Regions from separate parts of the Homo sapiens genome. Here region 1 is linked to region 2. Evidence: promoter capture Hi-C in 16 types of primary human blood cells and fetal thymus (Javierre and others, 2016). All regions are on one chromosome and are shown on one strand. Each heading gives the region's core, a stretch centred on a gene start or on the middle of the fragment in contact. The rest is flanking DNA. Distances are from core to core; before and after follow the strand shown.

What was found. Contacts are between HindIII fragments. The CHiCAGO score rates a contact against its expected background, and 5 or more counts as called.
Region 1: a contact is called between a fragment that was not itself captured here and the fragment with the promoter of PMAIP1 in region 2, in 1 of 17 cell types (M0 macrophages). The highest score is 6.7, in M0 macrophages.

The regions. Positions count from the first base shown.
Region 1 is chr18:60,560,082-60,564,275 of GRCh38, forward strand. No RefSeq gene overlaps it. Among named protein-coding and RNA genes, the nearest start is that of MC4R, 190 kb to the left of the region's middle. The HindIII fragment of the contact is 779 bases long and covers 997-1,775 here.
Region 2 is chr18:59,897,622-59,901,468 of GRCh38, forward strand. It overlaps PMAIP1 (phorbol-12-myristate-13-acetate-induced protein 1), which reads left to right and starts at 2,375. Exons shown (of 2, transcript NM_021127.3): 1 at 2,375-2,614. The coding sequence starts at 2,557. RefSeq lists an enhancer at 1,464-2,215 and silencers at 1,972-2,381, 2,532-2,741. The HindIII fragment of the contact is 10,069 bases long and covers 1-3,463 here.

The DNA of each region.
Region 1 (4,194 bases), core at 136-2,635, 660 kb after region 2:
TTATAATTACAGAATAACAATGTCAATTATATCTTTCAACTGGAAGACACTCTATTTCCCTTCTATTTGTTAAATTTTACAAAAGAACAAACTTGTATAGCTCAAACAATACTTGAATGAACAGTAATTGAATTTCATGCCCCATCAGCCAGTCAAATTTAAGAATATTCCCCATTATTGTCACAGAGGACAAAGCATGGATTTCATTATATTCAACACAGAACAATGTCCTTTGGAGCTGCTGACCTTCTGAGCTTTGAGAGACTGAAAAAGGACAAATGCCTTTTACAATAAGTAAATCTTCTGATGTTTCATCTAACAAAAGCTGCTGGTAGAATTAAATCCGCCCCCCACCCCCGCCAGCATTCATCCTTCCCACACATAACACTAAAAACTAAAGGTAAATACCTGTATATTTCCAGCATTAACAGTAATATGCAGGTAAAACAGTAATGCTTTAACTCAACTCCTGTACCTTCCAGATATATATGTGTGGGCATGTGTGGGTGTGTGTGTGTGTGTGTGTGTGTGTGTGTGTGTGTGAGAGAGAGAGAGAGACAGAGACAGAGAGAGAGTGGTGAGAGGTCACATTAGCTTTAGTCCTCTTCTTCTGGGTTCACATAATAAGGGAAATACTTGCTTAGCCCTGACAAAGCCTGCTGGAGCAGAGGGCAGGAGCAAGTCAAGGTCAGAGAGCCATGAAGCCTCAGGAAGTGGGGAGCACTGACTGGAATTTACAGCCTGGATCCCTGTAGATAAAAGAAACCAATTTTAGTGACTATGCTCAAGGGAGTATTGCAAATGTCATGCCTCCCATGTTTAGCGAAGTTTCTGTAATTGAGCACTTACTTGTAAGACAGTAGGTGCAGCAGGCATGGTGGTCTTTAGGTTAGATGAATGCAGATAGCTCCAATCCACATTCTCACTACCACATCTCCATCTCAGTGCTCCAACAAGCTGTAGTCTCCATGATTTCCTCATAACTAAGAATTTCAAAGCTTTATACCCTTAGACCTATAGTCTCCTTTGCTTGGGATGCTTTCCCCAGTCTTTACAAGATAGCTTCAAAACCTAGTTAATTGTTTGTTCTTATAAAAGCACAAGTAAGTGCTCCCAAAAACAGAACTGGTCATTCTCTCTCTGTGCCCTTATGTATACTGTATATTTAATTTGTCCAGTGAAATCTCTGCATCAAGATACAACTTACTTCAAGACTGTTTTGAAAAGGAAATCTTTTCATTCTGATAGAGGCAATTTAAGTCTTAATTAGGTGTCATTTATAAAGTATTTCACACTGAGACCTTTCCAAACAAACAAAAAAATCATTTAAAATTTACTTTGTAGACTAAACTCTCAAGGACTTTGCAAAAAAACCCACTGTTCTTTGTAGTTTTGATTTCTCATATATGCAAATAGTTGTACAATTATGTAGCATTTGTTGTTGTTGCCCGGTTGATTGCTTTAGACTCCAATTATCATTCTATATTCGTATCCTCTCCTCTCAGAATCTGGAATCTATTGCTGCTGTGCCTTATGGTATTTATCTTGGATGTGTATTGTGTTTTTCCAAAATGCTTATAGCTAAGTACATATATTTCTTTTATTTGAAGACTTTGTTTTGTAAAACATTTCTCTCAGATATCACCTATGTTCCCTAGGTCTTTGCATTCTTTTAAGATTTTAAAGGTAGCTATGTTTGTTACCAACTGCGAAGGGCCTAGCTTTGTTATGAACATATCTATTTAAAAGGAATGAATTTTTGAAGTCATATAAGAAGCTTGATGCTGTTTATTTTGTCCATGCTGAAAAGTTAGAAGAAACAAATATTTGTAAGACTGACAAAGCCAACATATAGGGAAAGAAAACAATATAAATGTTTTGAGGACATTATTAGTTGAACACTCTCCTGAGATTTACTTTTAGAAAGCTTATTCACATCAATCAGAAGTCAGAAATTTCAATTAAGGAAATGTGGAAAGCAGATTTTATTCATTCATAATTTTTTATTTGGATTTTAGTATATTTAAATGTAACAACAAGTACCAAAATACTGCTATTTATTGATCATTTTAATTATTATTGAAAGATATTTATTTTGAAGTCTGGTGGAAGATATGATAAGTCCTGAGGGCAATTAAAGATAGAAAGTATAAAATATGATATAAAGAAATGATGAAATGGATGTGTCTTTGTAAAACAGAGGCACATTTTCAGTTATATAACAAATTAAGCTCATTAATGTATCACCACATATATGTTACCTGTTAATTAGCTGTTATTTTTATACCATAATTAAAATCCCCCAAATAGATAATATACCTATTTCCCACCATATATGGGCATAGAGAAGAAAGTACTATTTAATTTGATGTGAAATGCTGTCTTTAGGAAATTATTGTAAATGTAAGCATGAATATAGGATAAGCACTAAGGTGCTCTTTCTAGTAAAACTGAGATGTCTTGGATGAGGGAAGTCCCTTAGATCTGCTGATAAATGTGTCTCTTAAGTAGCTGCAGGAGAGGCTAATGGCTCCCCTAGACTCTTAGCTTACCCTCCAGTTTCAGTGAGGCCCATGTTCAAGATACCTGGTTCAAGTGTGGAAGTGATGTCTGCCACCTCAGGCACCAGCATGAGACCCCTACGTGTTCACTCATTCCTCCTCTTCCCTTTCTGCAGCATTGTGGGGCCTGCATGCCAAAGGCAGTGGGTTCACAAGTTGGACTGAATTTGGATCACTAATTCATTTTGGAGGAAAGTTGCCCAGGAGGCTGCCAAAATTCCCCCCACTGCATGCCTTTTTTTGAGTCAGGGTCTTGCTCTGTCACCCAGGCTGGAGTGGTATGGTGCAATTATAGATCACTGTGGCCTCAAAATCGTGGGCTTAAAAATCCCTCCCACATCTGCAACCCATCCTCTATGTCTCCCAACTGTCCTACTCCTGCCCCAGTAGCTGAGACTGCAGGTGAGCCCCCGCATACCTAGTTGGTTTAAATTTTTTCTTTTGTAGAGATGAGTCTCCCTAAATTGCCCAGGTTGGTCTTGAAATCCTGGGCTCTAGTGATCCCTCCACCTCAGCCTCCCAAAGTGTTGGGATTACAGGCCTGAATCACTGCACCTGGCCTTCACTGAGTTTTGGTGACAGTGAGAAATAAACCTCTGTTTTGTTAAGCTACTGAGATTTTCGGGGTGTGTTGCAGTGGCTAAATTTATTAGCCTGACTAAAAAGGAAAGTTTTGACATGTGTCTAAGATTCACAAGCTCCTATAAATATATGTGCTGTTTTTGACGTGTTTCTTTCCCCTTTTAATTTTTGGAAGAGAAAAAACAAAACCATTGGCTGGCATGTTCTTTGATCTAACTAGACCTATCTTTTCCCATTCTTCTAGAGAGAACCTAGCGAAAGAATTGCATCTATTTACGCAATTCTGACAACCCAATTCTGGCTTACTTGTGAAAGATGATTGAATGAACTCTCTATGGATACTCGTTGTCACACTTGAATAGGGCACTCTATGGAGCCCAGTTTGTGGCCTTCAGAGGAGCTTTTGGGGTCAGTCACTCTTCAGCATCATTAGAGAAGGCTCACAGTATTCTCCAGGGCATCAAGCTTTCTCTTGCTGAGACTGCATAGAGACCCCCGATCCCCACAGCTCTTCTGTAGGCACCACCTCAAAAGCACCACAGAGTTTTGATTTTTGTAAAAGGACATCTATTTATGTATCTGCCTTCAGATACATAAATTTGAGGTTCTGCCAAAGAATTTGCATTATCCTTAGGGATCTCTTTGGGTAAAGCGTCATAACGCTAGGATGAGGCCTGTTATTTATACCTGATCTCATTTTTTGGCAAGTCAGATTAATAGCATAAGAGAAGATTTCCATGACCTCCAAAAGCCAGGCCAGCTGCAGTCTATCATTAAATTAGAGATAAAAGTCTGTATAATCTCAAAATATAAAAACAGACATTTTAGGCCGGGCGCAGTGGCTCACGCCTGTAATCCCAGCACTTTGGGAGGCCAAGGCAGGTGGATCACAAGGTCAGGAGATCGAGACCATCCTGGCTAACACAGTGAAACCACGTCTCTACTAAAAATACAAAAAAAATTAGCTGAGTGTGGTGCCAGGTGCCTGTAGTCCCAGCTACTAGGGAGGTTGAGGCAGGAGAATGCTGTGAACTTGGGAGGTGGAGCTTGC
Region 2 (3,847 bases), core at 1,125-3,624:
CTCTATAAACCAGCTGAATCTGACCCATGTCCAAAACCCACCTCGCCCGACTTCTTTCCGCTCTTTTCCTCCTTGCAAGCTGAATTTGCAATTCCCTAAAAAACAGAGTTGCCTAAGGTTTGTAGCCAGTGTGAGTCACATGACCAATTCTTTTCTAATGAAAATGTTAGAGGATGGGATTAACATACCTTTTATAGGTAAACAATGTTGTGATTCACTTTTTTTTTTTTTTTTTGGTGGTTGTTGAGTATATTCTCTGCATTTCAGGGTGCGTATTTGAACGACAGAAATTTAATAATTTATGCAACCAAAAAGTTAACGGTGTTCCTTATGTATTAGGTAAGTCAAAATGAGCCTGGAGTGGTTTTGAATTACCACTTGGGGATAATAGATTTCAAGGCAGCATCTCCAGTGTGCTTCCTGCGTCTTGTGATGATTCCTAAATTCTGTCCACTTTTACTCGTTTGTATATACCCCATTCAAAAACAGCCAACATCAGCCTCGAAACTATGTTGTTTAAACTCAAGAGCAGTTTTGTTCCATGCTTATATTGTTGTCCATACCTTCAGCAGGACCAAGCCATAAATAAATACTTGCTGGTTTGTGTTGACTGAATGATTTAAGATAAATAAACAACCTCAAATGCCTACTGAGGCCAGATAATGTAAATGGGAAAAGCAAACAGCGGGGAGTGTGGTGAACAGGAGCACCCTAGGTTCCTCTAAAGGGTGTGGCTTCGACCACACTTCAAACCTAGTTTGCACTTTTGGAAAATGGATCCCACGTTGTCAGAGATTCTGGTTTTCCAAGAGATGCTGGAATCTGGGTTTTTCATGCAATCCCTCAATGTTTAAAATGTTGGTAATCAATTCAAATTTTTACAATACATTTTGAAGGCCAATACTGTAAACCAAACTAAGCACTTCTAGGGAGCCCATGCAACGAATTTGCAATCTTTTCATTAAACAGCACAGCTAATATGAAAACACGCTTTTTTTTTCTTTTTCTTTTTTGAGACAGAGTCTTATTCCGTCACCCAGGCTGGAATGCAGTGGCGCGATCTCGGCTCACTGCAACCTCCGCCTCCCAGGTTCAAGCGATTCTCGTGCCTCAGCCGCCCAAGCAACTGGGACGACAGGCGTGCACCACCAAGGCCGGCTAATCTTTTGTATTTCAGTAGAGACGGGGTTTCACCATATTGGCAAGGCTGGTCTCGAACTCCTGGCCTCAAACGAACCACCCGCCTCGGCCTCCCAAAGAGCTGGGATTACAGGCGTGAGCCACCGCGTTCGGCGAAAACACACATTTTCTAAGAAACTGATTGCTGGGAAGGCTACAGTGGGTAAGAGCTCTTGCTCTCTGTGGGCCTGCCTGGTTCGGAATCAGGGCAGTGCTCTCTGCCTAAGTGAACTTGGGCAATTTTCTACAAACCTCAGTTTCTGCACCCGTAAAGTAGCAACGGTTGTTCTGAGGACGGAATGAGAAAATGCATGTCAAAGTCCTTAGCATGAAGCGGCTCTCAGTAACCGTTAACCACTCCTAATTACTCCTCTTCATAATAGTAGAATTACTCATGGCCTCGCCAAACATTATGCAAATAATTTCACGTTCCCAGGTAGCTCAGCCCTCCCACAAAAGATTTGAACGTTTTCCATATGATAACGATCCACTCGTTTTTGCTAAACATCCACAATGGGCGATATCGACCTATCTGGAAGGACACACACAAATCCCTTCCCAACTCAAACACGATGTTCTTTCTGGCTGGCACCAGGGCTTCTGTTTGCAGTGACTTCCTGGGACCCGGAGCTTTCTCACAGGGCCTCTGGCATCTCCTCTGCGGTGATTAAGGTTCTTCTCATTTCCCTTCCCTGTTACTGCCCATACTCTTCAAGTTCGAAAAGTTTCCTTTTCCAATCTCTTTTCTGGGCTTGTTTACCCAAGTCTCTAATTGCCAAGGCCTCTGGTCTCTCCCCACCCACAACGTTCCTCCTGGTTAAACCCTTCCCCTCCCGCCACTCCCAGCTCCCGCCACTCCCAGCTCCCGCCACCACTGCCGCTGACGACGTCCAGCGTTTGCAGATGGTCAAAGCCGACCCCCTTCTCCTCCCACCTCGTTTTGTAAGGAAGTAATTTCGGGGCCGAGCGCTCTGCGCCCCCCGCCGCGGGTCGGCGCCGCCGCGGGTCGGGAGCGTGTCCGGGCAGGTCGCGCTCAGCGGGGTACTTCCCCGCCCGCGTCCCGCGTCCGCTCCCATAACGCCGTCTGCGGGGCGGGGACAGGGGCGGGGACAGGGGCGGGCCGGGCGTCTAGTTTCCCTACGTCACCAGGGAAGTTCTCACTGGACAAAAGCGTGGTCTCTGGCGCGGGGATCTCAGAGTTTCCCGGGCACTCACCGTGTGTAGTTGGCATCTCCGCGCGTCCGGACACCCGATCCCAGCATCCCTGCCTGCAGGACTGTTCGTGTTCAGCTCGCGTCCTGCAGCTGTCCGAGGTGCTCCAGTTGGAGGCTGAGGTTCCCGGGCTCTGTAGCTGAGTGGGCGGCGGCACCGGCGGAGATGCCTGGGAAGAAGGCGCGCAAGAACGCTCAACCGAGCCCCGCGCGGGCTCCAGCAGGTACCGACCCGCTGGGGCCAGCGAAGACCCAGGCCGGGCGGGGTCGGGGCCGGGGTCGAGGTCTCGGCTGGGGCGGGCTCAGCTCGCCGGGGCTCAAGCACAGACTGCACGGGGGTCAAGGTCGGGCCAGGTCTGTGCCCTGGCGCGAGCCTTAGGGGCGCCTCCAGAAAGTTCTTCGGGGTTTTTCCCCAGGACCGGCGGGTACGGCGGGTACGGCGAGGGACCAAGCCGGATTTGCGATTGGGATGCAGCTGCGTTTCACCAGGGGCAAAAAGCTCCTTTCCTCCTCTCTTTCCTCCTCGCCACTTGCCCTTCCCCGGGGCCACGAGGAACAAGTGCAAGTGTAGGCGGCTGTCTCTAGGAGAAAGTCATTGTCGCGGCAGAAGGGGCAGGAGAGAGCCCCGGGGACCGCCTGGACTCCCAGCGCTTCCAGAGACGGCCCCACAAGGGCCCCTGTGTTCAGGAGCCTAGAAAATCTTGTAACATTTAAATAATCGATATTGTGGGAGGTGGGGATAGGAGAATAGGAGTTAGTCCGCTCCTTTTTTTCATTCATTCATTCGCACTCCCCACCCCGATACATACAGCTCCATCGTAAGTTTTCAGGCCAGCGCCCCGGCCCCATGCTTTTTCTAAATCTAAACAGAGAACCCAGTCACTGCCCAGAGCCCGAAGTCTGTGTGGGCCATACTGCTGTTGCATCAGACGATTATACGCCCCCCCCACCTTTTAAGTTACTTTCATTTTATAGAGCTCCTGGGGCGTGCGAAGGAAGTGGTGCATTGCAAATGTGACCATGCCTAAGTTGGTAACAGGCTGCTGTCTCTGGCGCTTGTGTGGGATGGAAAAAGCTTTGTCTACCTTTTGTGATGTCTTAGGATTCTGACCTTGTTTCTTTCTGAAGGATCTTACTTATGCATAGCACTTTCTGGTCCGACTTAATTCCCAAGAACAGGAAGCAGCACAAAGTCCCTCTTAAACTTGATTTGATTGATACTAATACATTTATAGGTGTGTAATGCAATTTTTAAAAAATTAAGGAAATGACCGGGAAGTATTTTCTGCCTTGTTTTCTACATTTTTGGTGAAAGGGATAACTTTTCCACTTAGAATTCAGGGCTTCCAGTGTCGGACGCTGAATGGTATTTGGTTTTTCTTTTAGAACTGTATATTAATATATCTCAATCTCTGTAGACAACATGTCTATGTAAATACTTCCCAACATATTTGATC